6 separate regions of the Homo sapiens genome follow, and all the other regions are linked to region 4. Evidence: promoter capture Hi-C in 16 types of primary human blood cells and fetal thymus (Javierre and others, 2016). All regions are on one chromosome and are shown on one strand. Each heading gives the region's core, a stretch centred on a gene start or on the middle of the fragment in contact. The rest is flanking DNA. Distances are from core to core; before and after follow the strand shown. Region 1 has its middle 200 kb from the start of LINC00376. Region 2 has its middle 220 kb from the start of LINC00376. Region 3 has its middle 180 kb from the start of LINC00459. Region 4 holds the start of PCDH9 (protocadherin 9). Region 5 has its middle 12 kb from the start of LINC01074. Region 6 has its middle 200 kb from the start of LINC00459.

Region 1 (3,984 bases), core at 842-3,341, 4.1 Mb after region 4:
TCAGAGTTGATGGAAATAGTCCATAGGTTGATGAGAGAGTTAGTGATTATGTAGGTGTATATGTCAAAGTATATGTCGAAATTAATCATGCGGTACACCTGAATATATGCATTTTATTGCAAAGAAATTATACATATATTAAAATAAAATTTAGATAAACCAAAGAAGAAGTTTTAGGGGTGGGTAATTTATCAGAGACATTGTTTAGAATTGTGAGCACATGGTTATAATAAGGAGTAGAGCAACTTTTACTTGACTTTATTTTTTGTTTTGTTTTGTTTCAAAATTCTAGTCAATGTACTTTTTTTAAACCTGCTCCTCAGGTAGATCTTCCCCTCTCCACACTTCTGGATACACCACTGCCAACTCCCCACTTCTTTGAATAGTCAATAAAAACTTCACAATATTTCTCATCTCTGGTCTCATAGCCCCACAACAATTTGCCTCTTGTTACTATTTTGGGACACAATAGAGCCAAAGTGAAATGAAATTTACCCCTACCTCTAGGAGTGAGAACTATTCTTGTTTAGGAAAACTGGAGTGATTGCAGCAGCCATTACCATAGTGACAGGCCCAGAATGATTCAATCAGAACAAAGAATAAGATTTGTGTTGTAAAGAGTAGCCTCTATCTGTTTAGGGTAGAGTGGCCTACAGAAATGAGACCCAGAACTCCTCAGCCTTTTGTTACCATTCATCAAGAGAACCAAAGAAACATTGACTCAGACCCTAGTCCCATTTGTGATTATAGCCAGCCATACTTCTACAGCTTCAAAGTAGGTTGTAATAACTCTTTTTATTTCATCTGGGTTATGTTATATTTCTTGTAATTTACTAAACTAGGAGTCATAACTGCTACAAAGAGAAGTAACTCTGCCTTAACTGTATATTTCCAACAGTTTTATAGAATATACTTTAAAATGAATTGATTTAACCTAGGAGGATTTATATTTCATGAACTGAGTATTTTTAAAAGATAAATTTTATTTTCCTTTGAGTTCTGCACACCTTACTGAAATACTACCTTGTGGAAAGGTCATGTGTTTTAAATTTTGTGTCTGGTTCTGAAAAACACCATACCAAAAAACATTAGCTTTAGCTTTTCTTTCTTTCTTTTCTTTTCTTTTTTATTTTAATTAATTAATTTATGTTTTTGAGACAGAGTCTTGCTCTGCAGCCCAGGCTGGAGTGCAGTGGTACAATCTTGTCTCACTGCAACCTCTGCCTCCTGGGTTCAAGCGATTCTCCTGCCTCAGCCCCCTGAGTATCAGGGATTACAGGTGCCCACCATCACGCCCAGCTTATTTTTGTATTTTTAGTAGAAACAGGTTTTCGCAGTGTTGGCCAGGCTGTTCTCGAACTCCTGGCCTCAAGTGATCCTCCTGCCTCAGCCTCCCAAAGTGATGGGACTGCAGGCATAAGCCACCACACCCAGCCACCTTCAGCTTTCCTGCTATTTGAAGTTAATGAAACCTATTTAGCTATCTCTTTCTTACATTTCCATTTATTTAATTTTTATTTTTTTCATCATTTACAGCCAACTGCTCTGTATTTTTTCCTTGACCTGTGAACAACCTGGTGTGAGAATGATATCTTGATTTCACAATTAATTCTACAAGTATTTATTGTGAGGGTAGGTCACAAGCAATAATGATGAGTTTGCCCCTTATTCTACATGTGTTCTTGTCTCTGGACACTTAAACATAATTACAAATTTAACTGGGATATTTGTAGTTTCACCTTCAGCGAAAAGCTTTTGTGAGCTAAGAACTTCTAGCTTGCTGACATTTTCATTAAAAAGAAATGAACAACAACAAAGAAACCCTCTCAGCTTAAATGGAGACACAGTGACTCATCAACAATATTCTACATCAAGAGCCCATTAACATTTTTGGTTTTTGCCCACGGGACCCATTTGCTATTATGACTATGATGTATATTTTACATACTCTGAGAGTCCTAGAAAAATGATACATATCTGTATGTGGCCATGTGACTGTAAATACTGATTGAAACAGAGTTATTCAATAATTTTTTGGATATTTTCCTGATATGTTAACATTTTATAAAGAAAGACACATTTTCTATATTTATCAATATGTTTAATATAGGTACAAGTCCTGAACCTCAATTTGTTTATTTTCTTTATTTAACTCAAAATTAAATAAATTTTTGCGGACCTAAATCTGTAAGTCAATAATTGATTCAATTATTTGGGTACTTTAAGACAAAATCAAAAGTTCACATGGATAGATCTACATTTTTTATATAAAAAATATTAAAATCATATATATGTTCAAGGTAATTTTTGAAATGTTCGGAGGGTAAAATGGGCTAATATTATTAAATTAGAGAGTACGTGTTTTTTCCTTCTATTTTCACTTCTTATTTATACCTGTCACCACAGAGTTTCCATCCTACATTAAGCTTACCAGCTACATAACTACACTTCAGCCCAAAGCTCCATCATTCTAATTTTGTGACTTTCCCTTTCCGTACTTGGGTTACTGTGTACAACTGCAATCTTTGTAAATAAATGGGCACCTACTGCTGGATGTTTATATTTTTACTCAGCTATCTCATTCATTCTGCATAGTGATAATTCAAACCTTCAAAATTTTCGTCAATCATGTTCTTACCAAAATCAAATTATATTCAAAGTTGATTTCACCATTTATTTCTAAAAAATTATTAGATATTTTACTGAAGTTCACCATAGCTTCAAAACACTGGAATGAGCCAACATTATTCTCATGTTCTTTAAAGACTCTATGAAAGACCAATCAATCCAATTCTGTTTCATTCAAATTTCTTAATGCCACCTCACCATCCTCAGTAAGTTGTTTTTCCCCCTTTAAATATAGCATATACATATACATTCCATCTTTACTTGTTTTGTTTTCCTGTAACAGTTTAAATTTGCACATGACTTTCCCATCTTAAGCAAAAACAATATTATCTTCCTTTCAAAATTAAGATTCCTGATAAAATATCCATATTTTAATAATTCATAATCATCTCACTAAAATTTGTTCTACTAGATCTACTATGTTTCTTAAAACAACTTTTGCTAACATTACCAACGTTATTTGCTGCTAGGTTTAACAGAATTTCTTCAGTCCTACTCTTACTTAAAAATCTGGCATTAACCATTAACCAACTTGATCAAATCTGCATTTTTAGTAGACTCTTCCATTAGATATATACGTAATATTTCCTGAGTACTTTGTTTAAAGATGGTTTCTGTGATCTGAATATGTTCTCCAAAACTCATACGTTTAAACTTAATCATCAATGTGAAACAGGTGGGAACCTTTAGAAGGTGATTAAGTCATGAGTACAGAGACTTCATGAATGGGATTAGCATTTATAATGGAAATTCCTGGGAGCTGTCTCTCTCTTTCTTTGTCCCTTCTGCTCACTCTTTCACCATGAGAGGACATAACATCTTTCTCCTTTTTGTACTTTTATCATTTCCACCATGTGAGGACATCTAGACATTGTCGTCTATAAGGAACAGGCTTTTACCAGACACTGAACAGCCTGGTGCCTTGATCTTGGTCTTCCCAATGTACAGAACTGTGAGAAAATAAATTTCTACTCCTTATAAATTACCCAGTCTCAGGTATTTTGTTGTAGAAGCACAATGACAATGGTTTTATAATTTGAATTATATCTCCCCCAAAATATGTAGAATTCTTAACACCTAGAAACTGTGAACATAATTTATTTTAAAATAAGATCTTTGCAATTAATCAACTTGAGGTTGTTAGAATGGGTCCCAATCAAATAAGACAAGCGCCCTAATAAAAGGGGGGTGATTTAGACACAGACACAGACAAACACAGAGGTAAGACAATGGGAAGAAGGTTATGTTGATGCAGGATATTTCTCTGTTACTTTTGCCAGCTGGAGACACCTGGCTGGCAATGCCCTTGCCCTGCCTCGGCCTGTGGCCCTGGGACTGGCTCGGATCACACCGCCC
Region 2 (4,410 bases), core at 1,630-4,129, 4.1 Mb after region 4:
TTCTGAGCAGGGAGTGAGGTAAGAAGCAGATTATACATAGAAAATAATAATGTTTATATACCGGGCTGTGGGAAACTGAAATACTTTCTTACGCACATCAAGGAACCAGCCCAGGGCCTGCAGAGATGGGAAAGCTAAGGAGATTAGTACCTTGGCACATAAGTAACCTATTTAAAGAGTAACAGAAGTTGGCAATCTCTGGAGTTTTAAATTAAATAATTATTTTGAGGGGAGGCCAAAAATAGCTAATCCTGCAGATAGGGAAACTCAAGGTAATTCATGACTATCTTTACATGACTTATAATTGATGGTTTCCAAAGAGATGTTAACTTGAATGCCTCAAAATGGGACCCCAAAATTGTTCTTTATTTTAGCACTATTTTTTATATATCTTCAGATGTTGTTATAATATAAGCCTTTATCAGGTGATGAAAATACATGAGTTGTAAAATACATAGATAACTATTTTTTTAAAATAACAAAGTTATGTTGCAACTTTTATAATTTTACATATGCACATTAACTTATGTTTATGTGAACAGTAGCTTATTAAATTGCTCTCAGTTAAAAATGTATAAATAAGCTTAAAGTAATTTGCTAAAACGATTAGTAGCATTTGGAAATATAATATATTTTATTGAATATTCATAAATTAGAATGTGAACTCTTTAAAAATTCTGTGTTCGTCAACTAGCTAATAAAAATACTTTTTAAAATAAAAGAGATCAGGACGGTGGGAACTCAGAGATCATGAGAGGAAAGACACATACCTTAACTTAAAAAGCAATGTATATGAAAGCATAAAACATATAACCAACAAGTTTCTTTTGTTTTTAAGTAGTAAATTCTTAATGAATTACCCCAATTTCCATGTTAACATATCACATCCTCATCTTCTGTTTACAGTGGTAATTTAGTGCAAATCTAATACTAGAATTAATAATTAGCAATTAATAAACACATTATTTCTGAGGCATGACATTTTGAGACTCTAAAAAGCAATTTTGTATAAAAATAAATATAACAACACCAAGAGTCTACAAGGACACAATTATGTCAGAAGTTAAATGGATACTAAAGAAGCATCCTATTTTAGATAGTCCTCAAATTGAAACCAAGAAAATAATGGCACTTTTTTCTCCAGTGGCAAAGGTGAAGGTAAACTTTAAATCTTTCACAGAAAGATAGTGAGGCTCTGGGGCATGTAGAATTCCTGTTCCCTGTTTTCAACAACGCCTGACTACAATTTTTCCCTTTTCTACTGGATTTGCACATAGATTTTGTATTATGATTTCCACTTTTAAGATAAACTAAGCATAATTAAAACAGAAGTTAATAACTGAAAATGTCATGGTAAATTACTAAATGTTATTTAGTAATAATTACTAAACCTAAAATGTGGAATTTTGGGCCAGCATAAGATAAGGGCACTAAGAATCAGCAAACTTCAGGTTTTGGAAAATTACAATATTAGTATTATCTTTTGGGACTTTGACCATGTTTTGATCCCTTGTTATTTTGACCTCATGCCCATCAACATTGGATATTTAGGGAATTCAAAATATGAGAACATTAATATTCTCACTTTTTAAACTTACTGTAAGAAAAACAAGAGAGTTTACAATATCAACAAAGACATGCAGTTTTATAAACATGTCTATATTCACCTATTCTAGATGGCCAAGCATTTATGTTTATATTATATATATATATATATATATATACACACACACACACTAAACTTAGTAAGAAATATATATATGATATATATTTATATATATGATTTCCACTTATATATAAATATATATTATATATATAAAGATGATATATATTTATATATGATATATATTTCCTACTAAGAACTAAGTAAAAAATTATATATAATATATATATATAATTATATATATAATATATAATTTTTTTTTTACTAAATTACCCCCAGTTGAAATTCAGGGTATATGTTAAAAATTAAATATGTTATACAAATCAGAATGAAAATATTGTAACATTTAAGAACTATAGACAGGCTTTCCCATCTCCAATTACTCTGCATACTTGCCCAATAAGAATTTGTCCTCAAATGAGACACAACATGGAAGAAAACGGCAACTTCCCAGGCAGGTGAGCCATGCCAGCACTCTGGCCTTTAGTTACTTCTTGGAAGTCATTGCCAAGGTCTACAGGACTAGCCTCTGCCTTGGGATAGCTAAATAGATCTATTCTACCTAGTGGTTCAGATGTGAGAGCCTTTACATGCAGAGATTTTAGTTTTATAGATAATGACTAAACAGGCTATTTAGCACAGGCCTTCTACCAAAAAATTTCATGAGGTAAAAATCTCTTGTAGTGTGATTACAGAAAAACCTCAACTATGTCAAAAGGATGTCTAATCTTCAACATTCTAGAAAACCTCTAGTTCAAGGAGATTTGGACTGTGAAATACACGATAATTTCTAAAATAAATACATTTTACATTCCAGGAGAAGGCCTGAAAGATCCTAGATAATTATTCCTCCTGATAGAAAGCAGATGAGTTGGACAGATTGGGTAAACAATGAAACCTGTGTCAGTCTTCCCTTTGACTCTGTATCATTTGCTGCTAATTAAGGACTAGTATCCTACAACTACAGTACCCTGACCACTAGCCACAGGGCAAATATATCATCCAAGCCAAACAAACCAAAATTTCCCCTAAGATTTGAAATAAAAGAAATAAACACAGTCCTCTTTTTGGTAGTGAAGCTAAGGGTTGATAATGGGAAGGTACAATTAGCCATAAAAAATAATTAATAAAGACAAGATAAAAAAACTGAGGCAATAAATGGAATGAGAGCTGATTGACTCAATTCTCTGTTTCTAGTTGCTCTTCCCTTTTTGACTCTCAATTTGAGACATTTTTAATATCTATTTTTCACTATTCACAGCAATATTTAAAATAATAATGGAAATTAATGAGACAATAAAAGAAAGAAAATGAAAAATTGCCCATAGGAAAAACAGGTGAGGATTTAAGTAAGGGTTCCCACATACCAAACTATGTTTAATTTATGTTAAACTGGTCAAATTGATGGTGATAGTATTTCTTTTTCACCAAACATTTTTTATTTTATTATACTGGCAAGTTCATTTCTCCTGTAGAATACATTTCTCAATATGTATTACTTGTTCAATTACATATCTAATTTATTTGTCCATCTCAACTCACAACCTTAAAATAGCTCAGTTTGTCTATGAAAAAATAAGCTAAAGGCAAGTAAATATCCACACTCAGTTTTTGACTGTCAATAATTCACTCTGATCCTCTTGGCTCTAAACTCTCTTTCTGACAAGTCATATTTATACTGAATAATTTTTGGCAAATGAAAAAATAAGTTATTAAACATAATCTAGGATAATTCACTTTAAAATAGATTGCTCTATCCCTAAACAGGTTAAACATTTCTCCCTCTTCCTCTCCTTTTTCACAATTTGTTGACATATTTGCAACATAATTATTTTTGAATTCTTCACTTAGCCAGTAGTCTCTTCCTTTTATGGGAATTATAATTGGAGTACTTTAGGGCTATCACATGCATATATGGTACTCACAGAAGCCAAGATTGTCATGATGACTTTTATTAGTATGTCATGTTTATGGATAATAAAACTGAGGTCCAGGGAATTCAATGGCAAGAAAATAAACAAGACATTTGGACTCCCTCCCTCCCTCCCTCCCTTCCTCCCTTCCTCCCTTCCTCCCTTCCTTTGACAAAATATCACTCTGTCGCCCAGTGGGGCGATCTCGGCTCACTGCAAGCTCCGCCTCGCGGGTTCACGCCATTCTCCTGCCTCAGCCTCCCGAGTAGCTGGGACTACAGGCGCCCGCCACCACGTGCAGCTAATTTTTTGTATTTTTAGTAGAGACGGGGTTTCACCGTATTAGCCAGGATGGTCTCGATCTCCTGACCTCGTGATCCGCCCGCCTCGGCCTTCCAAAGTGCTGGGATTACAGGCGTGAGCCACCGCGCCCGGCCTGGACTACTTTATTTCTTGTGTTCCTTCCATTATATTAAATGCTAGTAGAAAAGGTGGGAGCAATTCAGAAAAACAAATGCTTGTCATTAAAAATATGTACAGTATAAAATGTAGGTCCACACACCAATATACCACAGTTATGTAGTATCACTATTCTAAATACAACTGCAAACATTTTGAATTACATTCAACTTTTTTATGTATTACAGATTAGAATAGTTTCATTGCTTTACATACATATTCCATTTTGACAATGCCTATATCACCTTATGTGTTGTCTAACCTGTTTAGACAGTGTAGAAAAATACTCTTTGTTCCACATCATAACCAGATTTATCTTCAGTCAACAAATTCTACATTACTGAGAAAAGTCTATACAAAATTCTGTCTATAAAA
Region 3 (4,502 bases), core at 374-2,873, 4.7 Mb after region 4:
GTCAAACCAAATGTATTTTCTACTATGACAGAATAATGGCCTTGATTCTTTCAATCTACAGTAAGTGTAATCGAGCTTGACCCCAGGAAGTCTTTTAACTCTGTCCCACATGGCATACTCATCTACAAGCCAGCAAAATATGGTTTAGGTCATGCTATTGTTGGCTTGATGTAAAAGTCATCAAAATGTGGTACTCAAAAAGAAGTTATTGATGGTTCACGGTTGACCGGGATGTATGGAATGGAATAAGGGAAGTAGTTGGTTTATGTCTGATCAAATGGTGTTATGCCAGATGGGATTTCTAAGTTTGAAATTATTTCTAATCTTATAAATGATTGGTAAATGACCTTAACTAACTTATCCTATTATATCCAATTGGGAAGGATGACTATGAAGTAGAAATTATCTTGAGATATATATGTACATATATACATTCATTCACTTGTGCATACACACACACAAGTGTGTGTGCATGTATTCAGAAGTAACCTAGACAATGAGGAATATCTAAGAAATGAAAAGATCAAATTATGACAAAGCTTTTAGTGAGGAATTAGTTACCAGCATATCTCACTTAAAACATGACTCTTTATATTTAAGAAAAAAAAAAAACATGGTGACATTTTTACTGTTGAACAAAAATAAAATTTTATTACAAATGATGTGGCAAAATGTTAAGTGAAAATGCTGCAGTGTATAACCATAGGAGGAAATATGAGTCTGTTGTACTTTACTCCATCTTGAAGGAATGGAAAATTATTAAACTCATAGAGAAGAATGAAATGGGCCTTATGGGCCTGGGCTGTAGGTTTCACTTTTAATCTAATACTCTTTTAACAGAGAAGGTGCTTGTACATTGTCTAAAACAACAAAAAATAAAATCAATTAGTGAGTATTTTTATAATCAGTAATATTCATAACAAATATTAATATCATCGCCTGGTTGTACTCATCTCCCCACATATAAGATGTGGCATCTGAATTGAGAGGTTCCTCCTTAGGTATATTTGATCCTGGTGAGACATGAGAAGCTCAGGCAACTGAATGGGAACTTTCAGTTAAGATAGGAAGTAGTAATACCCATAATGTTGCACATGGGACTTAAAGTTCTAAAAATAAATTTGGACCAAAAAAGATACAGAAATGTTGAAAATCGTTACAATTAATATACATTTTCTTTTGGCCACATGAGCAATATTCTGTCATGTTTAGAACTGATGATTGTGTTAGTACAATTGTGAGGAGAAGTATCATGAAATTCAAAGTATTTTTAATACAAGAACAAATGTTTAAGTGTCACAATTTATGCAAAATAGCAGTCATGTATCACAGATAAAATGGCACTTGATTTCAAATTCAAGCACTTAATTCGATCTTTCTTCAAGATTTTTAAATTTTTTTCTTATTTATTTTATTTCCTTCTTTTCTTATTAAAGGAGAAGTTGAGCAAATTGGTATAATTATTCTTTGATGGAAAAGCATCTTCTAAACTATAAAGCAGCACTCCTACCCCAGGGATTAGTCAGTTCCAAATGTTGCTTTTAACAAGGCTGGTAGTTCTGAAAATAATTTATTTTTTCAGCAAGGTGAGCTTTCAGCAGTTTTGCTAATGGTATACTCAAATCTCAAGTGACCAATCTGACATACAACTCCTACTGATCCTCTCTCTTCTGATCTTGCCAAATGTAAAGTTTTGTTCTTAAATCTATATTCCCTTTGGAGTTAATTTCAAACAACTAACTTCAAGTCATGTTTATGCCTTATGTTCTGTTTCACTTGTATAAAATCTTAATCAACTGAAGAATAGTTGGGAAAATACTTAATTACAATTTCAAATATTGACACTCATAATAAACTAAAACTATTAATTTTTATTTCTTCCAGATCTTAAATCTAATTTTCATCTTATGTTCTTAGTTCCCATTGAAGCTATGGCATTATAATTATATGCACACAATTATATTTTTTCATCATGTGCTTTAAAGGGAAGAAAGACTACAAGCATAGACATTGGTGATACTCAAGTTAAGGTCATTCTTTATGTCATACACACACGCACGCGCACATACAAACAGATATACATATAGATACAAACACGTTGAATATCTCTTGTTCAAAATGCTGTGACCAGAAGTGTTTTGGATTCTGGATTTTTTTATTGTTTATATTTATTTTTTAGAGACAGTCTCAATACATTGCCCATGCTGGTCTTGAACCCTCAACTTCAAGTGATCCTCCTGCCTGAGCCTCCCAAAGCTCTGAGCTTACAGGCACAAGCCACTGGACCCAGACCTAGATTCCTGATTTTTAAAAAATATTTGCATATATATAATCAGCTCTCTTGGGGATAGGACCCAAGTCTAAACACAAAATTTATTTATGTCCATATATACCTTATTGACATACTTGAAGGGAAATCTTTGCATTATTATTGATAATTTTGTGCATGAAACCAAATTTTAACTGTGTTTAAACCACAACTCATAACATGATGTCAGGTACGGAATTTTCTACTTGTGGTGTCTTGTGAATGTTCAAAACGTTTTGGATTTTGAAGTATTTCAGATTTCAGATTTTTAGAGTAGAGATGGTTAACCAGTAATATATTTATAGATTATGTGATCACGATGACTTTTTTGGTAAGCCATGATAATTAAGAAATAAGGTAATGATTAAAATAATATAATTGTTTAAAGACAAAAGCTTTTATTCAAAGCCTTATATGCAAAGAACTATGTGTTTTCAACATGTTCTAGAGCATTTGTTATAGAGTTCTGTCTTTAGTAAAGACGATATAAACAAATATCATTTGAAGATCATGCAAACATACTTTAAAAATCATTAGATTGAGAAGAATTTCAAGAAACATGAAAATATTTCATTATTGTCTTTATGAGGCTATCTCTGCCTGGATAACTTTTTAAAAATATTTAATATAATACACATACAACCTAAAATAAATCTTGTCACATAGTTCTTTATCTTTGTTTGAAATTAAAACTAATTTTTGAAAATATTTTTAATGATCATTAATATTCAAATTATCTCACTGTATCAGAAAACACAAACTCTAGCTAAGTAGAACTGGCAGAGAAATTAAAATATATAATACAATGAAGGCATATCAAACTGAAGTAATTTAATTGACAAGCTTATAGGAAAGTCAAAGCAAAATTAATATTAAAAATGAAAACTGCCATGACTATAGTACCAGATTTCAAAATTTGCTATTAGCATCATTCAACAGCATTGCATGGTCAAAAGGAAAGATATATAGATCATTGAAACTCTAAAAATAGACTCATACATATAAGGCTATTTGAATGTTGACAAAATCAATAAGCCAATTTAGTGGAAAATAATGGACATTTCAACAAATTTTGCCTAAAATAATTGGATTTTCTCATGCAAAACACCCCAAACCTTCACACATTTCTCACAACATATTAAAAAATAAATAAGTCACAAATTTAAATGTAAAATCTACATTTATGAAACTTCTAGAAGAAAAAAATAGAAGGCTATCATTCCAACCACCTTCAGCCAGGAGAAAATTTCTTACAGAACAACAAATGCAAACACTTTTTACAATTTATAAATGAGACCTCATCAAAATTAAAACTTTGGTTATTCAGAAGACATTAAGAAAATATAAATAATCTACAGGCTAGGAGAAAAATGTTAGAAAAATATATGCCTAATAAATGATTGATACCAGTTTATGTAAAAAGAACTCTTACAAATAAATAATAAGCAAGCACACATTAAAAATGTGCAACAGATGTGAACAGTTACTTCAGCTCAAAAGTAGTAAGGACTGAATGGATGGATGAAAGCAAATTCCATTTTTCTTTCATGTCATAATCAACTAAAACCTAACTTAAAGCTGAATAATGATGAGATAAGCAAAGATTAAATACTTCTATGAGAAAATTAAGGTTTGTAATCATTAAGGGTGAGGTTTAAAAATAACGTGTCCATAGATGTCTTCTATACATGAACTTTGTAGGGAATATGTAGACACAGAAAGGAAAAACAATTGTCAACACCCTATGGATAAAAGAAACAAAGAAGAAAGGAAAGTAGGGAAGCAACAATATTTTATCTATCATATCTGATTCTAGAAAAAAATTACAGTGAGATAGAATCACATTCACTTGTATTTCTATGAAATTATTAAAATATATACAGCTGACTCTCATTATTAGCAGCAATTATGTTCTATAAAGTCACCACCGGTCCTTAATGAATACTGAACTATTGCTCCTAAAGGAAATACAGTGTTAGGTTCCTGAAAACCTCTAGTCAAAATTTTGTGAGCTGATCAATGCTTAAAATTGTATTATGTGTGTTTCTCTTTAAACATATCTAATCTAATATAAATTTGATTCATTAATATTGAACACTATGGCTCATTCCTGAATAAATCTTATCTAATACACATATTTTGTCCATAAAGCACATCACAGCCTCTTATACTTCTGGGCAGCACTTCAGCTCTA
Region 4 (3,942 bases), core at 575-3,074:
TTACAGTGGGCTTTTAGACACTGCAGTTGAACTGTGAATATTAACTCAGAAAAGTTTGAATTAAAAAGAGCTTACAATTTCATGTTGGAAAATTGTGATGTCAAATTAGTTGGTTAAATCATGTCATTATTTATTCAATATATGGCTTAGTAAGCTTGATTGGTGTTTTTTTTTTTTTTTACTTTTCATTTAAACGTCTAAAAACAAATGTTACTTAAAAAAGAAAAAAAGCAAACAAAACTATTGTACTCAAAAACAAGGGGTAATCTCCAACACGCCCTCAGTCAAGAGCTTAAGTATGTCAAGAGCCTTTAATGCCTAGGCAGCCCATTATAGAATGGGGAACACACAGGTTTAAAATAAATGCCCTTTATTCTTCCTGTAAGTTAGACCAAGTTATTCAATCATGTACTAAGACCTTCTCTGACAACCTTTATAGGTCATTCAGAAAATAAATTTTTGTTCCAAGTGAACTGTTCCTATGTTAATGCTTCAAACTTTACTCAGGTATCAGGCGTTAAGTACAAGCCATTACACAAACCTTTGTGGTTTACTGACTTTGAAAGATCAATCAAATATATTACTAGATAGTGCTTTGGGGGTCAGTATTTGAGAAATAAAGCTGTATTTTTTGGGGAGTCATTCCATCCAGTTCCCGTATGAAAACGAGAAACTTGTGAGGATTTAGTACAGAGCTGGAGTCGGAGAAATGAAATGCACGGGAAAAGACGAAAATCACAGGAAAGAAAGTTGGAATCAGCAGAAAGTGCCTAGGGGAAAGGAAGTGTTCCACAGCTTGGGAAACAGCTGCCTGGGACTCCTTCCAGCCCCTCGGAAGCAAAGTTCGCAGTGAGGTGGGCTGGAAGCGGGTTTTGCAGCAGCCGCGAGTCCGGGCTCAGGTTTCCAGGCGCGGCTGGAGCAGAAGTGCAGGGACCGCCACGATCCACCGCCGCGGCCGGTCCCGCTCCGCTAGAGGAGACTTCGCACGCGCAGCCGACTGGCCCGGGCTGACCGAGGGGACCCAGACGCTGCCACTTTCTCTTTCCAAGGCAGTTTCCGTGGCTCTGCATGTAGGAAGTGCTCCGATTAATTTTCTTTCCGGTCTCCGCAGAGATTCCAAATTCTGCGGTCCCCACCTTTCGCTGTACTCCCTCTCCGCCCTTCTTTCCAATGTCCCTGCCAGCAAAAGCCTCTATTTGCAGCACCGGGCATGTTGTCCGTTTAACGCGCTCCGGGGATCTGCTGGCTCGTGCTCCCAACCCAGGGGTGGCTATACGTCTCGCGCCTCTGTTCCTGGGTAGACTCCCCCATCTGTGCATTTTGGCCCCTTCACTTAGCAAAGAGATGTGCGAAGTGTGCGCCTGGAGACGAGCCGCCTCGGTGACCCCCATCCGCCCGCAGCGGTGGCCCTGGTTCCCCGGATCCGCGCCCGCGCCCTGCGGGTCTCCCGCGCCGCCCTTGCCCGCCGGACCACCCGGGCTCAGAGGGTCGCTCGCTTTCAGCGCCTGCGAGCGCCGCTTCCGCCCGGGCCTGGGGAGCGCCAGCGCGTCCCTCCCACGCCGGACCCTGCAGAGCATGCTCAGTGCACCTCATGGAACCCGGCTCTCCTGGGGCCAGGATCAGATTTCCGGGTTTTCGCTGCTGCCGAGGGGGCGCGGAGGAGGGGAGGCTGGGAGACAGTCAGCGCCTTGTTCCGCGCTCCCTCCCTCGCGCCGGGCTGCGGCCGCCCGCGCCGCAAGATGCAGGCCAATCAGAGCCCGGGGGCGGGGCCTGGGCAGTCACGCCCTCCCTCTGGGCTTATTGAGAGTTATATCAAGAAATTCAGTTCAGAGAGAGGAGAGGGAGAAGGAGAGAGGGGCAGAGGGGAAGGGAGAGAGGGAGAGCACGCGAGACGGAAAGGAGCGCCTCAGAGTCTCTGAAGCACGCAAGAGATAACCGATTAGGAATTTTTCGGGCAACTGTCACCCGGATAGCTGTCAGAGAATCATCATCACCGCAACTCTGACGTTTCCTACAAGAAGTTAGAGACTTAAGCAGTATTGGCATCGGATGGAAATGGTATGCATGCTGCTGTGGAAAATATCCCTGAGCTGAAGAAGTGCAACTATGTGTTGTGTGTGCTAAATGCCCAGAAGAACCCAGACCCAGTGGGTAAGAGAGACGAAATGTGGAGAGAATGACTAACGACAAATCCGTGAATTTGTTCTCTGGAGTTGCTAATTTGCCAGCCCGAAGCAACACATTTTACAAGGAGGAAACATTTTGCTGCTTCTGATTTCTCCCCAAACTGGTGCTACCAGATGCATGGCTTTCTATGTGTTGGAACAAATCATTCCTAACTGCAGCATACTGGGAAAGGGGAAAGGTTGAGGCAACTAACGTAAGTGTAAAGTTTCGCATGCACAATTGTAAATTCTGTGTTTAGATGTGTCCTCAGTGTAGGCGAAAGATGCTTGTAATTGGGTAGACGGTTGGGGCAGAGCTCACCTACTCGGCTGTATCTGCATCCCTACCTGCATCACTCTGCCGGAACTAATCGCGGGCATCAGCTACTGTGCAGCCTAATGCAGATAAGATTAGAGCCTGAGAACTGACCAGTCCTACTCAAGTAGGTAGCTGCCTGGAGCCTTGCACCCATTTAAACTGCAGTTATCTAAGCAGAAGCCTTTTTACCTGCATGATTGGGTTGCAGTATTTATGTGTGGCAAATGTTACTAATATTCTAACCAGAGATCAGGATTAAGAAATTGCATTTTTTTTCTCTTTTATGTTCAGTAGAAAATATTGTGATGTTACATGGGAATGTTAGCTGCGTTTCACTTATATCTCGGCACTCTCTTCCACCTCTAGGAAAATGAATCCTATATTATTATACATTTTTAAAAGTTTTAATGTGTTTATGAATCCTAATGAGGATAATTTGTCAATATGGAGAAAGGAGAGCAAGCTGTGGGCAAGAAATCTGAAGTCTTGTTGTTGTGCTTTTAGGCAATGAGGATGTGTAGAGGCCGGTGACTATTGCTTCTGATGCCGCTGCAGCGGCATGTCCGGATGCTCGTTTCCCAGTAAGATTGTATTAGAAGGCAGTTGAAGAACTGGGAGGAAAGAAAAAGATAGCCTTTTTAGAAAAGATAGGTGACTCAGTGGGGCAGAGAAGAAAACACATTTGACATGTGACAAAGCAATTAGCAGGAACCGTAGCTAAATACTTAGTGTTTTTCACTTGCACCTGAAAAGACTGAGGGAGGTAGGTTAGAGGCTAGGAGGAGGGTGAGACAGGGGGAGGGGAAGAGGAGAACAAGAATGCATGTTTTGAATTAAACAGTATTCTGAAAAACAACGTGCGTGAATATAGGTAAAAATAGCAGCTGTCCTTAATTCAAAAGTAGAAAATTTTATTTTCTCCCGGCAAATGCAACCAGCAGGAGATATTTAGTGTTTTTCTCCACAGAGTAAACTTGCAAACAGTGGCAGAGCAAACTGCCATGTTTACTAATGTTCAGGGGAAAATGTGTGGTGATATTTTGTGACGGTGTGTTTTTATTTACTGAAGAATAATATTGTCTATACAATTGTGTTGACAGCGGCTGTCTCCAAATAAGTGATGAGATATAATGCATCCTCCAGTCCATGCACGCTTCCTCTTGCAATTTGTGCATCATTCCTCAGTGGAAACCTTTAAACCCTAAAATCCAGGAAAAGAAAATAAATACATTATCATGGACCTGAGGGATTTTTACCTGTTGGCTGCTCTGATTGCCTGTTTAAGGCTGGATTCCGCAATAGCTCAAGAACTTATTTACACTATTAGAGAGGAATTGCCTGAAAATGTGCCCATAGGAAACATACCAAAGGATCTGAACATTTCTCACATCAATGCTGCCACAGGGACCAGCGCCAGCCTTGTCTACAGACTGGTTTCTAAAGCTGGGGATGCCCCTT
Region 5 (4,482 bases), core at 1,921-4,420, 4.9 Mb after region 4:
CAATTACTTAAAGGTGAAAGGGCAGGTTGCTTTGGAAAAGCCATTAAAGCTTGTTAGAAAACACCACTTGAGTATGTTCAAGCACAGGGGAAATTCACATAAGGAGCGGGATAATGAAATTCATGGTCAATGGATTTGCATCAGGATTGACCTCAGAAGACAGTGGGACACGGAACTCATGGCTTTTTTTTTTTTTTTTTTTTTTTTTTTTTGAGACAAGTGTCTTGCTCTGTTGCCCAAGCTGGAGTGCAGTGGCACGATCTCGGCTCACTGCAGCCTCCACCTCCCGAGTGCAAGCGATTCTCCTGCCTCAGCCTTCTGGGTGGCTGGAACTACAGGTCCCCACCTCCATGCCCAGCTAACTTTTGTATTTTTAGCAGATACTGGGTTTCGCCATATTGGCTAGGCTGGTTTCAAACTCCTGAACTCAGGTGATCGGCCTCCCAAAGTGCTGGGATTACAAGCGTGAGCCACCGCGCCCAGCCGGATTCAATTTTTTTTTTTTTTTTTTACTTTCTTCTGGGCTTCTTGGTGCATCTGTTTATTTATTTATGTTTTTCTATTTTTGCAAACTGGTCTGTTCCTCTCAGTTCCACATGGTGGGAAACAGCTTCTGATAGTGTTCAGTTTCATAATTCCTCCCAAAAAGGAGCTAAGCAAATCCTAACTTCCTGAAGAAGAAACTGGTGGGGCCAGCATGGGATGTAGTCCCACCTCTGGAAAGACCAGTCTTAGCCAGATTATTTATAGTGAGTGTTCCAGTCTGTCTCGAACATCCGTCCTTTGAACTAAAATACTCAGTGGCTTTCTGTCACTGCAACTTTAGGCTTTGTGGATTTTAATCTCATGGATCCCAGAAGCAAATTGCCCTCATTAAACTGCAAGCTGTAGCTGCCATGCAGTTACTTTGTGCTCTTTGTATTAAGAGACCAACAGACAAGAAATGATTCACCATCTGGAAGGAGCAATCAAAATGGGGTTGTTGTTATGTAATGTCAGCAAGGAAAAATGCATCCAGCACTCAAGAAATCACTGGGACATGTCTTAGCACTTTCTTGCCCAAATTTGGAAACAAATGCAGCAATCACAATAAAAGCAGGCCATTATGATCAGAGGTTCAGGTGTCACAGGGATGGACATCTTTGTCACCTACAAGATCAGCCACGTAAACCAGCAAAGGTGATAAGTAAGGGTAAGGGCAATAAAACATGGATGGCCAAGGACTGAGATGATGAGGATCAATGGCACTGAGACCAGCTGCTGCAGTAGCAGGAGTTAGAGTTTTTCCCATTAGCTTTTCTGTCGTAAAAGTTTGCATAGACAAAAGTTACAACAAAAATCCTAAAGCTATTTTCTGATGAAATAAAATTATGTTAAAAATCAAATGGTGCAAGGGATGAACTGTAGCGGATGTTCTGGGTGCACCGTCTAGATCTTCGTATTTTAGAACTAAAGCACTAATTCCTCAGCTGTCAGGAATATAACTTGCTGTTGGATCACAATTGAATCCCTCACAGGAATTGTTCTTGGTCCAAGAAGCTGCCGTGTTCAGTGTCATGGGCCCTTTGTTGGGCAGCTTCCTACCAAGGGTTGGTTTATCTAAAGAAGTACAACAGGTGTCCCTCTTGCCTTCATTGTATCTGAAGAGCTCCCTGGGATATCAACTGCTGCTGAGAACAACTGTTTGAAACAGCTTTGCAGCTTCACTTCTCCCTCTGTCCCATATTACTTTTTCCATTTCCTCACACAAGGCATTGCTTATCAGAACATTCTCCATTAAACTTTTGCACACAAATGTTTATCTCAGTAACTGTTTCCAGAATCCCTGACATAGTAGAATAATGCTGTGAGAATAAAACAGGAAAACATAATATCTAAAGTTTCTAAAGTCAAACTATATATTTTCAAATCCCAGTTCCTTTCATGTTACATAAAATTGGTCTAGTTATTTCATCTTTCTTTTATCATTTTCTCTAGTAAAAAATAAAGGTAAAAATAAATTTTCATTAAAGAAAATAGATAATTATAAAAAACAGAGCAACTGCAAAAAAGCAAAAAATTAACTAGTTTTTATTATAATAATATTGTTTCATGGAACTCACATCTAAAACCACATTGGATGGGGGAAAGAGCCATTTTCAAAAAAAGAATGAAGAAATTCAAAAATGTGTGCAGTAATCTTGCCCATGTTTTTCTACATTACATGCCTGCGTTTTTATAAAATTCATATTATATAAATGTACGAATATATGTATATGTATAATCAAATTCTAGATTTTTCTTATAATAGCTTAATCGCATTTCTAATGTGTGAAACTAATGTGAAAAATACAGTGAAAAAATTGTGTAATATATATCATAATGTATACATTCATTAAAAGGTGTTAGTGAATGTATTACATTGTTTGATGATACATCCACCCCTTCATCTCTTTAAAACATGATTCATGTGTCTTTTAGAAAGAATAATAATATGATAAAGAAATTTACTAAGAATATGCGCATCTAAAATTTAATAGAGCCATGTTAATGTTAAATAAGCTTTAAAAGGCCGGGCGTGGTGGCTCACGCCTGTAATCCCAGCACTTTGGGAGTCCGAGGCGGGCGGATCACAAGCTCAGGAGTTTGAGACCAGCCTGGCCAACATGGTGAAACCCCATCTCTACTAAAAAAATACAAAAATTAGCTGGGCATGGTGGCATGTGCCTGTAATCCCAGCTACTCGGGAGGCTGAGGAGGGAGAATTGCTTGAACCCAGGAGGCAGAGGTTGCAATGGGCCGAGATTGCTCCACTGCACTCCAGCCTGGGCAATAGGGCAAGACTCAGTCTCAATAAATAAATACATAAATAAATAAATAAGCTTTAAAAGAAAATAAAGCAAGGGAGCTTTCCAAAGTGAGTTATGGAAGATCAAATTATTTACTAAATAAATAATAAAAATGGAGGCACAAGCTTATAAAACCAAATAGCATGAGTCATCCTATTCATTTGCTAACTTGATATGTGTGATGATATATTTGGGAGACATTATAAAAAGTAGTGTGCCCCAGCAAATTTTCCCCAACTCATGAGAGTGGATTGTGTGTATCTCTTTCCAACTCTGCATCGTATTTTTACTCTAGGGAGTTCTTTTCACTTTATGTTAGGGCAAACTTCACAAAAGAGCAAAATTCTTAAGAGGTCAGGACTACCCAAAATGGTACCTTGTCAATAAAATTTCTCAGGGCGAAGTACACCACATACAGAGTCAGCATGTCAAACTACCCTATCAGAATATATTTTAGGAATTTTTTTTGTTTACTCCTCTAATATTAAATTCACTATAGTCATATGCTTTGCTATACACTAGATATAAAAACCTAGGGTCTCTTTCCTCAAGAAGCTTATAGTCTAGTCATAAAATAGAGATTAAATACATAAATAAATCAATATGAAACTAGAAATTTAGAAAATTTATATTAAGATCATGAAAATGTGCCATAGTAGAAAATAACTAAGGCAAATCTAATTAGAAAAGATGTTTGGAGACAACCTCTCTGAGATGATATTTAAACTGAGATTTGGAGGATAAAATGAAGCAGGCCTTGTGAAGATCCACAGAAAATGCACCCCTGGCAGATGGACAAGCATGAAAGGGCACTAAGTAGGACTGTCCTTGGCTTGTTTTAGGAACTCTGAGCAGGCCATTTGGGCTGCAGCAAAGTCTGTAACTCGAATGCTTATTAGAGCCAGTCAAGTTAGGTACATGAGTTAAATAGAACAATGTCAGTGTCTTTAGTTGTATTTTTTTCAACCATATACACTTCATTTGCATATTAATGGAATCTTAATTGTATTATTCCCACAGGGACACTCTGTGATTGCATATAAAACACATAGGAATATGTTTTACTATCAGAAAGAAATATGCTCTGTCCTAATTTTTGTGATACACACTGGTCCTTTGGGTCTATCTTTTGTTTTCTCCTTCAACTTGGCAATACCAAAAACAGCAGGGCAAGCTCAATGATAAATGTCAAATGACAGTGGATCTCAGTATTAAGGTAACAAGATGGTGACATGTCTCTGGTGAATTGAGAATGCACATTTCATATAAAGATTAGAGTCTCTACCCAACTCAAGTGATGGAAAGAAGGTCCAGGTTAGGTTGAAATTATGATTTTTAAAGAAGAACTTAGATCTAAATATTTACACATAATCTCCACATTTTTCAATATTGGCAAATAGTTTTGCAAAAAACAAACACACAGGGATTACTATCAAGACTATATAATACTCCTTTCCATTGTCAAGAACTGTGGAGGGCCTAAGATTTTACCCTACTTGCAATCTAACAAGTTATTCTTCAACAGTTTCATCAATTCTGGAAAAAGATGTGAGATTCCTGTGTCAGAGAAAATGGACAGTTTATTACTCACATAACAGTGGTGGCCAGGTTATCAGCATTTGTGTTGGTTCTTCCAGTCTCATTCCCCACTGAC
Region 6 (4,269 bases), core at 390-2,889, 4.7 Mb after region 4:
TAAATTATGGCTAAATAGAAAGTGACTGTAAAAGTGTGATATTGTAGAAAAAAAGGTAGCAAAGGCTTTTGAATGTGTATGCTGAGAAAGTAAGAATAAACCTGATTTCTGAAAAGTTAAGACAAACATTGAGCAGACAAAAGGACAAGGAAGAGAGCGTTCAAAAAAAGTTTTGTTAATAAGTTGAGACTCGATGATGGAACTTTGAAACACTTTTTTGAATTGCCTCCTATCCACAGTCCTCTGAGTTTCTTGTTTCCTTCTCTCTACACGTTCTCATATTTCACTGTTTTTTCCTCCTCTGTCAAATATTTATTTCTTTTTTATTCTTCTGTGTTTAGACTTAGACTTCCTTCTATTTTTACTCTACATAGTATTTTTCATATGTGATATAATCTAGTTCTATAATTACATTTTGATATGTAGATAAAATATTCAAGGAAAAAACACTGTGACTAAAATGTTCAGCCTGGGATAATAAGACAATGCAAGCAATTTAATATAGTTTCAAACAAAACTGAATTCCCTTTCATTTTGCATATATATGACATATCTTTCTGTTAAAAAGTTTTGTACATTGTAGCTCTTTCTACATCATTTTCTTCACAATTTTATAAAATGCATCTTTTTTTTGTTTGTTTTTTGAGATGGAGTCTCGCACTGTCGCCCGGGCTGGAATGCAATGAGCAATGGTGCAATCTCGGCTCACTGCAACCTCTGCCTCCTGGGTTCACCCAATTTTCCTGCCTCAGCCACCAGAGTAGCTGGGATTACAGGTGCACACCACCACACTTTGCTAATTTTTTTGTATTTTTAGTAGAGACGGGGTTTCACTATGTTGACCAGACTGGTCTCGAACTCCTGACCTTGTGATCCGCCCTCCTCGACCTCCCAAAGTGATGGGATGACAGGCATGGGCCCCTGTGCCCAGCCACATCTCTTTTCATTTGTACCAATCCCTATCCTCTCTCCCTTGTATTTTGTACATACCTTGCACTTCTTTCAGTAATCCTACCCATATGCTTCACAACCTTCTTGATGTATTCTTTTATTTCCATTCTCGTATTTTCCATCCCAGCCAAAATGCATAACTAGTTGGACAAAGTAGATCACTTTTGTATATGTATGGATGAGGAAGATTTTGCAGTGGGAAAGACATAAAACAACTTAGATTATAGGGAGGAACAAGACTGAGAAAAACAAAAAACAAACAAACAAAAAAAACTTCCAAAATTCTCTGGCCTAAAATTCTCTTTTTCTCTTTTCAGTTTTCTTTTAAAATTTTCTTATGGAAAACTGTGTATCCAACTGTTTCATTCATTTAGCTACTGTGATGGTTAATTTCATGTGTCAATTTGACTGAGCAGTTAGGTACTGGGATATTTCTGCAAACCTTATTTTAAATGTTTCTGTGAGACTTTAACATTTACACTGATAGACAATGTAAAGCAGATTACCCTCCCTATGGGAATGGGCCTTATCCCGTCAGCTGAAGGCCGGTATGAAGTAAGACTGACCCTGCCCTGAATAAGAGAACATTCCTCCTGTCTGAACTGAGACCCTGACTTTTCTTGCCTTGAGACTCAAACTGAAACACTGATTCTTCCCCAGTCTCAAGCCTGCCAGCCCTGGGTTTGAAATTACACAATCAGCAGTCCTGGATCTCCAGCTTGCTGATTATAGATCTTAGGACTTAGCAGCCTCCATAATTGTGTAAGCCAATTCCTCATAATAAATCTCTTGATTTTTGTATATACTTCACTTGATTCTGTTTTTCTGGAGAACCCGGACTAACACAGCTACAGATAACTTCAAATGTAATTTGCCTAAAGATTAACTAATTATCCTTTCTTCAGACTTGCCAATATTTATAGATCAGTAGATGGTATCATGATTCATTCAGTTGTTCATGATATCACCTCCTTCAACACTTCCCTTTCCACCACCTACCCCAATTAGTCTAGATATTCCTCTGATCATCCCTCTTTCAAATTACTTACATGTTTCATCTGATTTATTGTATACACTTTTTAAACTGATTACCTGAATCCATTTTTGCCCCCCTCCAACCAGGCTCCACACAGCAGAGAAGTTCCTTACAAAAGAAAACTGACAATTTTACTCTCTTGCTTAAATTCCTTCAATTGTGTTTCACTATTTTGGAATGAATTTGGAAGCCCTTATTACCTACAAAGTCTTGCATAATCTATCATCTCCCTGCCACACTAGTCTCACTTCATGACATTCTGTCATTCCTGCTTTATTTTCCAGCCACATGCATCTTGTCATCTTCTGCCTCTTCACCTTTATGCATGCTCTTTACATAAACAAAGCTATTATTTTTTAAAGATTGTTTATGACCTGAGTAAAGATAAAGAAATAAAAACGTTTGAGGCTACTGCCTAAAATTATCTTTTTCTCTTGTGTTTTTACTTCTTAATTCAATCATCTTTTTCTGAGGTCCCAGTTTAAAAAGTATCTTCCTGAGGAAGCCTCCAAGGATGCTCAGATGGTTTGTTTCCTTCTTATGTATTTCCACAGCAGCTTGCCATTTTCTTTCTCAGCATTTTGTTTAGGGATGATGATTGAGGAGCAATTCTCCAGAGTTTCTATACATCTTCATAACAACTTTATCGTAGACTATCTTTTCAGGATGTGTGCAAAGCAAACAGCCTTGGAAGATGAATAGGCTCTTCCACTGAAAGAGAGGGCAGACAGTTTTTCTTACCAATGTAATTTAGATAATATCCCTCTCCTTGCTAAGGTGGGACAGGTTGCCAGATACCCCTTATATAAAATTGTGGCCTCTTCAACATAATGAACCTAGAAAACATTATGTTAAGAGAAACAAGCTAGTCATAAAAAGACGTGTATTTTATGATTTTTACTTACATGAAATGCCAAATACTGTAAAATCTGTAGAGACAAAAAGTAGATTGGTGGTTGCCTAGGGTTGTGGGAAGAGAGTTGGTTAATGGGGAGTACTTACTGAAGGGTATAAGGTTTATGTAGAGGGTGATAAAAATGTTCTAAAATTGATTGTGATGGTGATTACATAAAGCTGTAACATATAAAAAAAACTAACTGTTCACTTTAAATAGATCAATTGTTTGAAACATAAATTATATTTTAAATAGAGCTGTTTTTTAAAAAAATGTGTTTATGATTTGAATAAAGATAAATAAATAAAAATGTCCTGGACTTCATAATCTCCAGGTTCCTCAGGTATACAGCAAACCCACTGTTTGTGTAGCATCTAATTGGGACCATATTTGCATAAACCCTATGAGATGTGGGTGTGATTGAGTAGGGAGAACTGCTGTGAACAGGATGCTCATGTTGCCTGCTGTGCTGTAAATAATAGTAATTTTTCCTTTACCCAGAAGTCTCACACCTTCTACCAGGATTCAGGAAACTCTGACAGGGGAAATTACTAGGTCAAAAGTACAGTAAAATCTCAGACCCTTCATGGTTTCTGACAGCCATCGTGTACTTAATTTTTGTGTGTATTCTTTAATATCTCTTTTCTGTGGCATAAACTTCTCTGTCCTTTTTCTCACACAGTGTGTAACAAAGAGCAGGCAATTAATAAACATTTATTGACTGACTGAATAACAACAATGTTGAAGTAAGGAAGAAAAGTCGGGAAAAAGCTGATAGGTAGGTGTGCCAAATGACTCAGAAAGTAATCTAATTTTTCTTTATTGAAAGCATTATTAAATATTAATGCCCTTTCTTCAGTTGGGTGCGGTGGTTTACACCTGTAATTCCAACACCTTGGGAGGGTGAGACAAGTAGACTGCTTGACCCCAGGAGTTCAAGACCAGCCTGGGCAACATGACGAAACCCCATACCAAAAAAAAAAGAAAATACAAAAATGAGTTGATGTGGTGCTGTGCACCTGTGGTCCTAGCTGTTTGGGAGGCTGAGGCAGGAGGATTGCTTGAGCACAAGACATGGAGGTTGCAGTGACCATTGATGACACCACTGCACTCCAGCCTGGGCAACAGAGTGAGATCCTGCCTCAAAACAAACAAACAAACAAACAAAAAACCCGCTTTAGATCTCTAACAGACATGTCAAATACTTTAATTTTTTTTTTGAGATGGAGTCTTACTATGTCACCTCGGCCGGAGTGCAGTGGTGTGATCTCAGCTCACTGCAACCTCCACTTCCTTGATTCAAGCAATTCCCCTTCCTCAGCCTCCTAAGTAGCCAGGACCACAGGTGTATGCCACTACACCCAGCCAATTTTTTTTTTTTTTTGTA

The links. The method cuts DNA at HindIII sites, captures the fragments that hold promoters and counts their contacts. A CHiCAGO score of 5 or more calls a contact.
Region 1: a contact is called between a fragment that was not itself captured here and the fragment with the promoter of PCDH9 in region 4, in 3 of 17 cell types (M2 macrophages, M0 macrophages and M1 macrophages). The highest score is 30.4, in M2 macrophages.
Region 2: a fragment that was not itself captured here is called in contact with the fragment with the promoter of PCDH9 in region 4 in 1 of 17 cell types (M2 macrophages); the score reaches 7.7 in M2 macrophages.
Region 3: a fragment that was not itself captured here is called in contact with the fragment with the promoter of PCDH9 in region 4 in 1 of 17 cell types (M2 macrophages); the score reaches 7.8 in M2 macrophages.
Region 5: a fragment that was not itself captured here is called in contact with the fragment with the promoter of PCDH9 in region 4 in 1 of 17 cell types (activated CD4 T cells); the score reaches 5.4 in activated CD4 T cells.
Region 6: a contact is called between a fragment that was not itself captured here and the fragment with the promoter of PCDH9 in region 4, in 1 of 17 cell types (M2 macrophages). The highest score is 6.2, in M2 macrophages.

What each region holds. Positions count from the first base shown.
Region 1 is chr13:63,126,817-63,130,800 of GRCh38, reverse strand. No RefSeq gene overlaps it. Among named protein-coding and RNA genes, the nearest start is that of LINC00376, 200 kb to the left of the region's middle. The HindIII fragment of the contact is 674 bases long and covers 1,755-2,428 here.
Region 2 is chr13:63,108,710-63,113,119 of GRCh38, reverse strand. No RefSeq gene overlaps it. Among named protein-coding and RNA genes, the nearest start is that of LINC00376, 220 kb to the left of the region's middle. The HindIII fragment of the contact is 4,587 bases long and covers 586-4,410 here.
Region 3 is chr13:62,498,359-62,502,860 of GRCh38, reverse strand. No RefSeq gene overlaps it. Among named protein-coding and RNA genes, the nearest start is that of LINC00459, 180 kb to the right of the region's middle. The HindIII fragment of the contact is 2,164 bases long and covers 542-2,705 here.
Region 4 is chr13:67,228,218-67,232,159 of GRCh38, reverse strand. PCDH9 (protocadherin 9) reads left to right here and starts at 1,824. Exons shown (of 5, transcript NM_203487.3): 1 at 1,824-2,380; 2 at 3,585-3,942. The coding sequence starts at 3,720. RefSeq lists a silencer at 1,414-1,553. The HindIII fragment of the contact is 4,939 bases long and covers 157-3,942 here.
Region 5 is chr13:62,307,245-62,311,726 of GRCh38, reverse strand. No RefSeq gene overlaps it. Among named protein-coding and RNA genes, the nearest start is that of LINC01074, 12 kb to the left of the region's middle. The HindIII fragment of the contact is 430 bases long and covers 2,956-3,385 here.
Region 6 is chr13:62,518,368-62,522,636 of GRCh38, reverse strand. No RefSeq gene overlaps it. Among named protein-coding and RNA genes, the nearest start is that of LINC00459, 200 kb to the right of the region's middle. The HindIII fragment of the contact is 6,918 bases long and covers 1-4,269 here.